2 separate regions of the Homo sapiens genome follow, and region 2 is linked to region 1. Evidence: promoter capture Hi-C in human tissues and cell types (Jung and others, 2019). All regions are on one chromosome and are shown on one strand. The core of a region is centred on a gene start or on the middle of the fragment in contact, and the rest is flanking DNA. Distances in the headings are between cores, read along the strand shown.

Region 1 (2,561 bases), core at 19-2,518:
GCCAAGTTTATAAGAATTGGCTTATAGTCAGCTGGGAGTGGTAGATTTATCATTAAGTGGTTGGCTGACTTCCAGCTACTCCTTCATAGTCAATTTTGGTCTGAGAGGCAAAGTAGGTGGCATGTAATAAAATATCTTTTCTCATTCTATTCCTTTTGGTAAATTGTCTCATATTACAATGTATGGATTTACTTCCTATGTGATCCCCATTTTCTCAAAAGATCTATTTCAGTTAGAAATTGTCAATTTTTTATTCTGAGTATGTAGGTCAGTTGTTCAGAAATAAACATCAAAAAAGTTGTTAAAATTGTGACTTATAAATTCAATTAAACTCAGAAAGTGTTTTTCCTTCCCGCTCTCCTTCCTCTCTTTCTTCCTTTCTTTCTGCATACTCCCCTCCTGCATCTTCCAACCTGCCTTTTATCCAGCAAATACTCCCTATGTGAATGCCTACCCTTTTCCTAGGCCCTGTAGTCAGTGCTAGAATACTATGGTGGATATAGATACATAGGGTTCTCATAGTCCCTACTTTCTTAGATTTACCTGTATGAGGGCAAAGTGACTTTTGTACATGTTTCTATCCCAATCTCCAGCACTATGACACAAAGTAGATGTTCAGAAATATTTGTTAAGTTCAATTATTAGATCAAGAAGCTCTCTAGTTTCTACTAAGTAAGGATTCACAGATTTAAAAGGCAATATATGTCAATGACCTACATATTAATTATTTACCAAGGACTTTGGATTTCTGTCATATTTATCTGAAGTTTCTTACATGAAAGTAATGCCCCTATTTGCAAGACCCCTTATCACAGGAACACAAAACTAAAAGTCAATCTCTATTCTACCTCCTTCTACCCTGCTTGCTTTATTTTCTCATTGGTAAAATGGAGAACACGTCCAGCATTCAGCACTTTTAAGATAGCAATGGTACTGTAATTTTACATTAAAGCAATAAGCAACAAAATACTACATAAATGTAAAATATTATTTTTAACAACAAATTATTTTAAAAGGTTTTAAATGCTTCACATCATTAATTAACTAAAGTATCAATCAAGACTTTGGTCTTTGTATATTTTATTTTTAAGAGCTTTGTAATACATAATTTTCATTCTATATTTTATATATCTAAAATCTAAGTATTGATATTAATAATAAAAAAGTACAACCTGTTTAGTTGATCCTGTGAAAGAAATTGATCTAGTTTATATCTCTTCAAATACCAAGGCAGATCTTAAGCTGCAAAAAAAGATGAGAACCACTTCTGCATTTGGAATGTTTCTGGTGAGTTTATATCCTGAATGCCAGAGAAGGAGGTGGAGATTAATTTGGGGGCTTGGCTTCATGAAGTCCATGATGCAATAGTTAATGTAGATGTAAATGCATACCTGCAGCTGCAGTAACCACACAGAGTCATGTTCATTCATGGAGATGTAGAAATATCCTGCTGTTATTTTTTTAATTATTTGGCTCATATTCAAATTCCCAAGTCTGCCGTCAGGGGTTGGGGAAGAAGGAGGGAGAAAAGGAAAAGATGAGAAAGAAGAGGCCTGGGAAGAGAGACTGGGAAGGGAGAATCCCTTATTCACTCATTGACAAATAATAGCATGACTATGGTTAACTTTCAAAAGAATAAACTTATTGGAGTGAAGAAAGAGAAGCCAATGAGGAAAGAAATAAGACAGCAAGGACCCTCAATCAGACCTAGCTCAGTTTATTAAGACCTGCCAAAGAAGTCATTGGGTTGTATCTTAACATGTCAATTGGAAAACACCTATTTAAACTCTTTGCCTTTAACTCTTAAGCAGACCTGAAAATTTTAAAAAGCAGATGACAGCTAAAGAAAGAATGTAAACATCACTCACCTTTCGATTATTATTTTAGAAACCTGACTTCTCTCTGCTCCCAACCACAAAATAGCATACTGTGAATTTTTCAGGTAATGATAGCTACCAACACTTGGAATTTACACAAGAGAATTAGAAAAATAAATGGCCAAGGGTTTGTGGAATCCACAAATGCATTACCTTTCTTTTCATTTTTCTGCACCTACTCTGTCACTTAAGAAAATTATCCTTTGCTCCACCCCATCAACACCTCCAACCCTGTTATTTCTTATTTCTCTATTAATTACTGTTAGATTACATTTCCTTTGAGAGGCTCACTCTTACAAGACTCTATGTTTCTCTTAGTGACTTTTAAACTTTGAACTTTCTCCTAACTAGTATTTATTTTACTGTGTTGTAAATCAATGTTTGCTTGTCCAGAGTACTTTTTAAATTATAAATAGCTTGAAAACAGGGTCTTACTCTGTAATTAGCATTTTTTTCTGGCATCTAGTAGGCTAGGCATTGAATATGTATTTACTGAATAAAAGTGGCTGATTTATTCAAGAAATATAAGAAGTTAAGGGGGCTATAGTTGTTATAGAAAGCAATATCTAGCCTTATGCAAAATAAGAGGTGTTAAGTGGTTTCTGAAAAATGGGGCTTTTCATAATAGAAAATTAAGGTAGAAAAGGAGTAACCAGGGACCCAAATTTAGATTTTCATTTTACT
Region 2 (2,561 bases), core at 27-2,526, 1.2 Mb before region 1:
TAACCAGCTAACATCACAATGACAGGATCAAATTCACACATAACAATATTAACCTTAAAGGTAAATTGGCTAAATGCCCCAGTTAAAAGACAAAGACCGGCAAATTGAATAGAGTCCAGACCCATCAGTGTGCTATATTCAGGAGACCCATCTCACGTGCAGAGACACACATAGGCTCAAATAAAGGGTTGGAGGAAGATCTAACAACCAAACGGAAAACAAAAAAAAGCAGGGGTTGTAATCCTAGTCTCTGATAAAACAGACTTTAAATCAACAAAGATCAGGAGACAAAGAAAGCCATTACATAATGATAAAGGGATCAATTCAACAAGAAGAGATAACTATTCTAAATATATATGCACTGAATACAGGAGCACCCAGATTCATAAGGCAAGTCCTTGGAGACCTACAAAGAGACTTAGGCTCCCACACGATAGTAAAGGGAGACTTTAACACCCCACTGTCAATATTAGACACATCCATGAAACAGAAGGTTAACAAGGATATCCAGGACTTGAACTCAGCTCTGCAACGAGCAGACCTAATAGACATCTACAGAACTCTCCACCCAAAAGTCAACAGAATATGCATTCTTCTTGGAACCACATCACACTTGTTCCAAAACTGACCACATAGTTGGAAGTAAAGCCCTCCACAACAAATGTAAAAGAACAGAAATAACAACAAACTGTCTCTCAGACCACAGTACACTGAAATTAGAACTCAGGATTAAGAAACTCACTCAAAACCACACAACTACATGGAAACTCAACAACCTGCTCCTGCATGACTACTGTGTAAATAACAAAATGCAGGCAGAAGTAAAGATGTTCTTTGACACCAATGAGAACAAAGACACAATATACCATAATCTCTGGGACACCTTTAAAGCAGTGTGTAGAAGGAAATTTATAGTACTAAATGCCCACAAAAGAAAGCAAGAAAAATCTAAAATCAACACCCTAACATCACAATTAAAAGAACTAGAGAAGCAAGAGTAAACACATTCAAAAGCTAGCAGAAGGCAAGCAATACCTAAGATTAGAACAGAACTGAAGGAGATAGAGACACACAAAAAAACCCTTCAAAAAAATCAATGAATCCAGGAGCTGGTTTTTTGAAAAGATCAACAGCAAGTATTGTAGAACAGCAAACATTGCTGCCTGATCCTTCCTCTGGAAGCTTCATCTCAGAGGGGCACCTGGCTGCATGAGGTGTCAGTTGGCCCCTACTCAGAAGTGTCTCCCAGTTAGGCTACCCAGGGGCCAGAGACCCACTTGAGGAGGCAGTCTGTCCATTTCAGAGCTCAAACACCATGGTGGGAGAACCACTGCTCTCTTCAGAGCTGTCAGACAGGGATGTTTAAGTCTGCAGAAGCTTCTGCTGCCTTTTGTTCAGCTATGCCCTGCCAGCAAAGGTGGAGTCTACAGAGGTAGGCAGGCCTCCTTGAGCTGTGGTGGGCTCCACCCAGTTCAAGCGTCCTGGCTGCTTTGTTTACCTACTCAAGCCTCAGCAATGGCGAATGCCCCTCCCCCAGCCAGTCTGCCTCCTTGCAGTTGGATCTTGGACTGCTGTGCTAGCAGTGAGCAAGGCTCCATGGGCATGGGACCCACTGAGCCAGGCATGGGATGTAATCTCCTGGGTGTGTCATTTGCTGAGACCATTGGAAAAGTGCAGTATTAAGGTGGGAGTGTCCTGATTTTCCTGGTAGAGTCTGTCATGGCTTCCCCTGGCTAGGAAAGGGAAATCCCCCAACCCCTTGCACCTCCGGGGTGAGGCGATGCCCCGCCCAGCTTCAGCCTGCCTTCCGTGGGCTGCACCCACTGTCCAACCAGTCCCAGTGAGATGAACCAGGTACCTCAGTTGAAAATGCAGAAATCACCCATCTTCTGCATTGATCATGCTGGGAGCTGCAGACCAGAGCCGTTCCTGTTCAGCCATCTTGGTTCATCACTATAGACACGTTACAAAGGAAGATATACAAGCAGCCAACAAGCATATGAACAAAAAGGTCAATATCACTGATCATTAGGGAAATGCAAATTGTAACCACAGTGAGATACCACTGATCATTAGATAAATGCAAATCAAAACCACAGTGAGATACTATTTCACACAAGTAAGAGTGGCTATAATTAGTCAAAAAATAGCAGATACTGGTGAGGTTGCAGAGCAAAGGGAACATTTATACACTGTTGGTGGAAGTATAAATTAGTTCAACCATTGTGGAAAGAGGTGTGGTGATTACTCAAAAAGCTAAAAGCAGAACTACCATTTGACCCAGCAGTCCTATTACTGGATATATGCCCAAAGGAATATGTATCATTCTACCATAAAGACACATGTACATTTATGTTCATTGCAGCACTGTTCACAATAGGAAAGATATGGAATCACCTAAATGCCCATCAGTGGTAGACTGGATAAAGAATATATGGTACATATACACCATGGAATACTATGCAGCCATAAAAAAGACTGAGATCATGTACTTTGCAGGCACATGGATGGAGCTGGAGACCATCATCCTTAGCAAACTAACACAGGAACAGAAAACCAAA

What was found. Contacts are between HindIII fragments. The study calls those that stand out against the background at their distance.
Region 2: a fragment that was not itself captured here is called in contact with the fragment with the promoter of SULT1E1 in region 1 in 1 of the 25 tissues and cell types used here (dorsolateral prefrontal cortex).

What each region holds. Positions count from the first base shown.
Region 1 is chr4:69,858,877-69,861,437 of GRCh38, forward strand. It overlaps SULT1E1 (sulfotransferase family 1E member 1), which reads right to left and starts at 1,269. Exons shown (of 8, transcript NM_005420.3): 1 at 1,173-1,269. The HindIII fragment of the contact is 19,346 bases long and covers 1-2,561 here.
Region 2 is chr4:68,620,864-68,623,424 of GRCh38, forward strand. No RefSeq gene overlaps it. Among named protein-coding and RNA genes, the nearest start is that of UGT2B17, 46 kb to the left of the region's middle. The HindIII fragment of the contact is 5,524 bases long and covers 1-2,561 here.